Linked DNA regions of Homo sapiens: region 1 is linked to region 2. Evidence: promoter capture Hi-C in 16 types of primary human blood cells and fetal thymus (Javierre and others, 2016). All regions are on one chromosome and are shown on one strand. Each heading gives the region's core, a stretch centred on a gene start or on the middle of the fragment in contact. The rest is flanking DNA. Distances are from core to core; before and after follow the strand shown.

Region 1 (3,700 bases), core at 1,185-3,684, 250 kb after region 2:
TTCAGCAAATTTGGAAAACGTTGGCCATTATTTCTTCAGCTATCTTTTCCTCTTTCCACTTTATTTCCTAGGACTCTAATCACATCTATTTCAGGCCTCTTGACGTTGTCTCACAGGACACCGAAGCTCTGTTCTTTTTTTTATTTCAGCCTTTTTTCTTTTTCTTATCTTTTTTCTTTTCTTTCTTTCTTTTTTTTTGTTTTTTGTTTTTTGAGACGGAGTCTCGCTCTGTCACCCAGGGTGGAATGCAGTGGCGCGATCTCAGCGCACTGTAACCTCCACCTACCGAGTTCAAGCAATTCTCCTGCCTCAGCCTCCCGAGTAGCTGGGATTACAGGTGCCCACCACCACACCCGGCTAATTTTTTTTTTGTATTTTTGGTAGAGACGGGGTTTCGCCATGTTGGCCAGGCTGGTCTGGAACTCCTGACCTCAAGTGACCCACCCATCTCGGCCTCTCAAACTGCTGGGATTATAGGTGTGAGCCACCGTGCCCGGCCCAGCCTTTTTCCTTGAGCTACAGTTTGGGTAGTTTCTGTTGTCAGATATCATTTCTTCTGCAGTGCCTAACAGCTGTGAAGCCCATCCAGTTAACTTTGTTTCTAACATAATAGTTTCCCCTTATTTCTTCTCATGGTACTTGGGTTTTCTTTTACATCCTCGTGAGCAAATTGATAATGGTTTTAGGGTCTACGATTCTTCTCATACCATCTTCCCCATCATTTTGGGGTCTGTTTCGACTGACTAATTTTGTTTCCGGGTTTTGGCCTCATTTTCCTGCCTCTACATTTTTCACAAGTTTTTCTTGGTTGTTGGATATTGTCAGGTGTACACTTTTGAATGTCTGGATTTTGTTGTCTTTCTCTGAGGAGTTGGGTTGGGCTTGGCAGGCAGTTAAGGTGCAGATCATCCTTCCGAGGCTTTTTATGCTTTGAAGTGGTGGGTCTAGCATAGCCTTTCCGCCTCCCGCCACCGGCGTCCTTCCCAAGGCCTCTGCTGCACACCCGTGTGTCCCGCAAGGCCCGCGAGACCCCTGCACTCCTGCTGCTGCAAGATGACACCTTCTCGGCCCTGTGAGCTCCGCTCGTTGCTCCCTGGTAAGACGGCGGTTTCTCGGCCCTGTGAGCTCCGCTCGTTGCTCCCTGGTAGTTGCTCTTCTCTTGACCTTGAGGACTCCTGCCCTGCACCTGTGCACTGCCTGGTGCTCAGCCAGAGACTCGAGATTCCCTTGGGTTCCTAGAGCTCGTTCTGTCGGAGTAGCCCCCTCCTCTCTAGTTTCTGGCCCTCAGATTGCAGCCACCTCAGCCTCCTGAGCTCCAGCCACTGCCTTCTCCAGTCAGTGAGGCCACTGGCCCCAGCAGGTGTCTGGCCATTAGTGGGTGGGTGTTTGTAAAGTTTTCATGAATTTCTTGAACAATTGTGTGCAATGCAGAAAGTTCTCAGAGCTGACTTAAGGTGAGAGGAGCGTCCTGGCCTCCTCTGTCAGGCAGATCTGCCCTCTGGGTGCTTGAGGATTTTAAGTTCTGGCAGTGCCGGCCAGCACAGGCAGCCTGCAACTCCCAGAAACTGCATTCTGAGTCCTGCTGTAGGAACAAGCTGTTCTGCTGAGTGTCTTCTCTGTGCTGGAATGCTTTGGGGGACAAGGGACATCATGATAAGACAGACCTACTCTCACAGAATTTCTGTTTAATAGGAAAAGATACGAAATGTTATCAGATGAGCAGGCCTGCAGATCCTAGCACAACAAAGGGACTAAGGGAAGATGGTGTCCTGGAGCTGGCATGTTTGGGGAGGAATTTGCATCGGGTGGTTCTTTGGCAAAGATGGTCAGGAGGTGACACGGGACTGAGATCTGAACCAGGAGACTGAGGCAGCCGGTAGGAAAGTGCAAGGGGGAGCACTCCAGGCAGAGGCAACGGCAGGAGTGCAGAGGTCCTGGGGCAGGAAGGCGTGGGACGTGCTCTGGGAGCAGCATGGGGGCCGGAGGGTGGGAGTGCAGCCGCTGCGGTCGGGATTCTGCGTAGACGTGCGACAGCTGGTCAGTACTCCTTGGTGTCAGGGACCCAGGCTTACTCCATCCTGTGCTGCCGTGATGAGCTTCTCATCCTCATGGTCTAGTGTGGCTGCACCGGCTCTGGCCCTCATACCTCCCGGCAGGAAGCCTTCTTCTAGGTGAAGAAGAGCAAATCCCCACCTTTCAAGGACCCTCACTGCAAGTTGTCCCTGTGACTCCGTTTGTGTCCCATTGAGTACGACGCTTCCCTGCACAGGATGCTAGGACACGTTGTCTTTATTCCGCACACAGCTGAAATTTCTTACTGAGAAGAGGAAAGTTGCTGTTGAACAAAAACTAGCAACCTCAGCCAGTCAGTGACCGAGGGGCAGGGTAAGAAGAGATGAAGATGGAGGGGCAGCCCGAGGCCGGCTCCCAGAGCGCCGCGTGACCAGAGCGGACCCTGGAGTACCGTCAGTGCAGGAGGACGTGCATAGGAGAGATCAGAGCAGAGCGACTTGACCTTCAGAAGGTCCCTCCACAGAGGGAAGAGCAGAGTCTCTGGGCCGAAGAGTGGTGGGGAGGGTAATGCGGACCTGGCCCTCACTGTGTTGGGGAGGAAGCTAGTGCTGGGGAAGGAGGCTGGAGCGCTGCGGTCTGCCTGACGTTCTGGTAGCTTAGGGCTCATGTGGCAGTGCAGAGAGGGACTCGAGTGTCCCTGAGGTTCTGGCGGAACCTGGGTGCTGCCACTCATGTGACAGGAGGGCTGGAAGAGGCAGCGGGCAGAGTCCACGGCCCCATTTTGGAAGTAGTGAGGGTGAGAGGCCACTTAGGCTGCAGCTGAGGGGTGGAGCAGGCTGAGAGCTCAGAGGAGAAGCCACAGCTGGAGACCTCAGTGTAGGTTTCAACAGCAGAGAGCTGAGTTTGTAGAGATGGGAGCTGTGAGCTGGGCACGGTGGCTAACTCCTGTAATCCTAGCACTTTGGGAGGCCGAGGTGAGCAGATCACCTGAGGTCAGGAGTTCGAGAGCAGCCTGGTCAACATGGTGAAACCCTGTCTCTACTAAAAATAGAAAAATTAGCCAGGCATGGTGGCGCATGCCTGTAATCCCAGCTACTTGGGAAGCTGAGGCAGGAGAATCACTTGAGCCAGGAGGCAGAGGTTGTAGTGAGCCGAGATGGTGTCACTGCACTCCAGCCTGGGCGACAGAACGAGACTGTCTCAAAAAAAAAAAAAAGAAAGAAAGAAAGAAAAGAAATGCGAGCTGTGATTGGGTGGGTTCTGCAGGGACACCCTACGGCCCAGGTCATGTGGAGGTGTGTTCAGTAGTGTTTGCTTCCCTTCTGCCTGAATGCCTGGAGCCAGGACATGCGTCTGCCATGTCTCTCCTGACCACGTTGGCACAAGTGTTGGCTGGTCTCCTGGCTGTCGGGCTGCTTGATGCCACAGGACTTCTGCTAATCCCAAATCCCTGTTGGCTTTGCCCTGTTTCCCAGAGCGTGTCCCTGCGGTCTCCTTACGCACCTCTCAGATGTGCATTTCACCTTCGGCAGGCGGTTCCTCCTCTCTCCACAATGCTGGGAACAGGACTGTCTCTTGCACGCCTTTGGTCATTCATCAGGGTCAAAACTGGTCCCACAAACTCAGCACTGGCCGGAAGAGAGGCCCCAGGGGAGCAGCCACGCTGTTGGGAACACACAGCTCTGGG
Region 2 (4,062 bases), core at 688-3,187:
AGGGGCTACAGGGGCATATGTGGGACTTTGGGCACTGCTGGGCACAGACTCATCCTGTGGGAATGTGTGCTCTCACCCCACACTTCCTATTTGGGGCTGAAAATTTTAATAGTGAAGAAAGAAAATGATAAAGCACTGTGCTAGACAGGATTGATTTCCCCTGCTGTATTGCTAGAAGGTAGACACGGCATGTCTGCGTCTCAGGCTGCCGAGAGAGCCGTGCCCTTTTCTGGGGAAGCACAGAGCTCCTGAGCTTCCAGCTCTGGGCCCCACAGCCCTTGGAGCTGGGGGGTGAGGGGGAGACACAGGACCTTCCTCAGGAAAAGAGGGCACCCCACTCGATAGTGAAGCCACCAGGCAGCTATGGAAAGTGAAAGTTGGTCCGGATTCCAATGAAAAGATTAATTGGAAAACATTTCTACTCCATTTTCTAAAACTGAGTTTTCCCATAGAAAAAAAAATAATAAAGCTATCCCTAAAGTTCTTTCAGCTTCTAAAAAGAAGATGCTGTAGTAAGATTCCAGTCCCCACCGCCCCAACTCCCAGGAAAGCAATTGGGAAGGTTTCTTAACATACCCTGAGTTCTTCCTTCCCTCCCCCCAAATTCCGTGTGTCATGGGGTGGAGGCAGTGGTGTGTTTATCAGGGTGGCTGGCACAATTCACAGCCACAATCATGGGGGTCTAGCGAGCTGTGGAAGGCAGCTCAGTGGGCAGCGAGGCCCTGGCAGAGTTGCCCGGCTGCCCCAGCCCAGCGTTGCCCTCCTGGGCAGTCTAATCCAATGTGAAATGAAGTTTCCTGGGAAGCAGGGCACACGAGGAACTTTTGAATTTACCAATGGCATAAAAAGTATATATATTTTTATGACAACGGGCAAGTTTCAATTGGTTGGCAGAAATGGCGAGATGTGACGTCAAGGGACACTGGTTAGAATGCCAAGGCCGGCGGCGGGGGGTTGGGGGGAGACAGGCACAGACAGACATTGGGTTGGGACCCGGGAGGCCTTGTTTCTCTCGGGCCCTGGCCGCCAAAGGGCCGTCGCAGGCGTCTGGGGACATCAGCTCCATGCGGCTCTGGGCCAGGGCATGCTCGGGCAGGGGGACGGGGTCTGCGAATAGTGACTCTGTGTCCGCGTGCGTCCCCGAGAGCCGGAGGCCCAGGCCGGCCCCTCTGCGGTTTGGGAACCACTCAGGCGCCTCTGTGGAGCGGGCGGGAAAAGACGCCGCGGCCTCCTTGGCATTCTAACCCGTGTCCGGACCCTAGAGGCCGGCCGGTCTCAACCACCGGGAGGGCCTGGGAGGGAACCGTGTGGCCCGGGGCCAGCAGTGTCGCCATCGGGCTCCGAGAGAGCAAAGCTGTGGCCTTGAACTTCTCCCCGAAGCTCCTGTGCCCTGAGTCGGGGAAGCAGGAAGTTGTTGCCACCGGGAAGGAAGAGAGCGCGCTCGGAGCTGGGCAGCGGCTCCAGGCACCGCGCCCCTGCCCATCCCACGCCTCCCCGGGCACCGTGAACCACCCCCCAACCCAACTCCTCCAGGCACCTTGCGCGCCCCTCTTACATCTCCCGGCACTGTGCGCTGACCCCTGCCTCCGCCGGCCGGCTCCCGTGTGCCGAGTCCGGACTCCCACCCCTCTGGGCACCCCTTGCTCCGCGGGGCCGGCGGTGTCCTGGAAGCCGCCGCGGGGTTGCCCGTGCGCGCGCTCCGCCCTGGGGGAAGCCCGCTGCCACCGTCGGCCCCGAGCGCTGTCCCGGGGCCGCGTCGAGAGCTCCGCAGCGCACACTGTTCCCCGCGGGGACGAGCCTGGAGAGCCTGACCGCTGTCCGCGGCGCGCTCGGGGCTGCGGGCACCAGGTTGCGGGGACTGCAGGGACCGTCGGTCAGCCAGGGGTCCCAGAGCCGGGCCCGAGCGTGCGCGCGCGTCCCGCTGCCCGCAATCATGGCAGCCGGCGCCTTGGAGCGCAGCCGCCGAGCGCGCCCCAGCAGCCGCCTCGGTGCCAGGGCGGCGGGGGCGGGCCGGGCCGGGAGCTCGCGCCCGCCCGCCCGCCTCGGCCGCGCGGGCCCCGGGGCGCGAAACGGAAGGCCGCTGGGTCTCCGCGACGCGGTGCCCTTGCCCGGGGCGGGCGGCGGGAGGGGCCGCGGGGCGGGGGCGCGCTGGAGGGGAGCGCCCGGGGCGGCGTGCCCGCGGGGACGCGCACGCGGGGCTGCGGGGCGAGGCGCGGGGCCCGGGCGGCGAATCCGCTGCTCGCACCGCCCGCCCCGCCCGCGCGCGCCGTCCCGGGGTGGGGGGCGGTGGAAGGGGGAACCCAGGAGGGGCGGCGCCCGGTCTTCACCCGCAGCGGGCACGGCGGGGGCCGCGGGGGGCCTCGTTGGTATTCCGGGCGCGGTTGCATCCGCGACCTCCCCGCAGAACAGGGGTGCCCGGGCGCGCGGGCACCGCCGCCGCTCTCGGGCGGTCTCCGCGGGCTGCGGGGCCCGCAGGCGCCTTGCTTTCCCCGTCCCCTCCTCCCTGGGTTCCCCGTACTCCCTCCCCCGCTCCGATCCGGCGGCGAAGGGGTGGGCAGGGAAACGCGCTCTCTGGGACAGGTGCCAACTCCGAGACAAAAGACATAAAATAGGCGGCAACGGGGGAAGCGCGGCCGGCGCGCTCGGGCGGGGACGGCGGCGCCGCGGGGGCCGCATCCTCGGTGCCGACCCGGGAAAGTTTGGGAAGTCGCCGCAGCGGCTTCGCAGCGGCGGGGGACGCGCGGCCCGGGTCGCCCTCCGCGCCGCGCTCGCCCTCTCCGCGCCGCTGCTGAATAATTCATGGCGCGGCCGCCGGCCATTAGCATGCACCGGGCGCGCGGCGCGTCTGTGCCAAGCCGCCGCCGCATTCGGCGCCCGGGCAGCGCCAGACGAGCGGCCGCGCGGCGGCCGGGCCCACGCTGTCCCCGCGCCCGCCCGTCCGGCGGCGCCCATTGTGCCCCGGCCCGCCCCGCCGGGCTGTCCCCAAGCCCGCCTGCAACCCACCGCCCGCCCGACGGCCCGGCCCTGCAAGTCCTGGCTCGCGACGCCCGCCCCGGAATGCACGTGAACTTGGAGAAAGTCGCGGGGCGCGCCGGCCGGGCTCTCCGCGGCAGGGCGTGGGCGTCCCGGGGCCGGCGCGCTTTCGTTTTCGTCTGGGACAAAGGTCCCTTGCGGCGCGCGGACGCCGTGACCGGGTCCTGCGGGCCACTCTGTGGCGCAGTCGGGTCGCTAAGCGCAGGGAAGCCGGAGCCCGAAGGCAAGGAGAGACGCGGCGCGGGGCCGGGGAAGTGGGGCCTGGGCCGTGCGCTTCGCCCGCGGCAGTCCAGAGCCGTCCCACCCTGCGAAGAGTTGCGGGAACTGGCACCGCTCTGCCGTCCGCCGCTTCGACGCGGGAAGAGGGTGAGCGTTTGGAACCCAGGACTCAGACCGCTAGCTGAGGGCCTGTGCAGCTCTGGGCACGCGAGCGCGGCGCCGGCGGCGGCCAGGCACGGTCCTCCCGCAAGGGCAGGGCTGTCGACCTGTGCGCCCCAGGTCACGATCGGGTTCACGGCGACTCCTGAGGACGGTAAGTGCATTTCTCACTTTCGCTGCTTAGTGAGTATTTAAATATTAATGAAGGGATCTCTAAGAGGGACCCTTCCGTAGGGCAGGCCTTCCACAGACCAGGGAACGCACCGAGGAGGTTGCTCTTGAACCTGAAGCCGCACCAGCTTGCAAGAACTCCACTCGGCATTAATCTGGATCTTGGAATTTGTGAAGCACAGCTTCTAATCTCAGGTGTGCAGGCTATTTGCCAGAGAGAATCTTGTTGAACACATAAAATAAGCGTTAGCAGACATCTTAAACACAATGGGAAGAAAAGAAAAAACATCTGTTTTTAGATTTTTTTTTTTTTTTTTTTTTTTGGTGAGATGTGTTTGGAAAGGTTATTGGGAAGCTACAACTCTTTCTTGGAAGATTGAAATATTTCATTTACTTCCTAAACCCACGCTGCTGATTTTTTCCCCCTGGTCGGACACTTGGGGACAGCTGATTTGAGGGGGGATCCTCGGTTCGGCGTTG

What was found. Contacts are between HindIII fragments. The CHiCAGO score rates a contact against its expected background, and 5 or more counts as called.
Region 1: a contact is called between a fragment that was not itself captured here and the fragment with the promoter of LINC02939 in region 2, in 1 of 17 cell types (neutrophils). The highest score is 5.3, in neutrophils.

Annotation. Positions count from the first base shown.
Region 1 is chr22:46,316,768-46,320,467 of GRCh38, forward strand. All of the region lies in intron 7 of GTSE1 (G2 and S-phase expressed 1), which reads left to right. Among named protein-coding and RNA genes, the nearest start is that of TRMU, 17 kb to the right of the region's middle. The HindIII fragment of the contact is 4,924 bases long and covers 1-3,700 here.
Region 2 is chr22:46,069,084-46,073,145 of GRCh38, forward strand. It overlaps LINC02939 (long intergenic non-protein coding RNA 2939), which reads right to left and starts at 1,938. Exons shown (of 2, transcript NR_148973.1): 1 at 1,556-1,938. All of the region lies in intron 1 of LOC124905135 (collagen alpha-1(III) chain-like), which reads left to right. RefSeq lists silencers at 1,580-2,359, 2,420-2,499, 2,630-2,839, 2,920-3,009, 3,180-3,259 and enhancers at 2,853-3,407, 3,408-3,960. The HindIII fragment of the contact is 11,898 bases long and covers 1-4,062 here.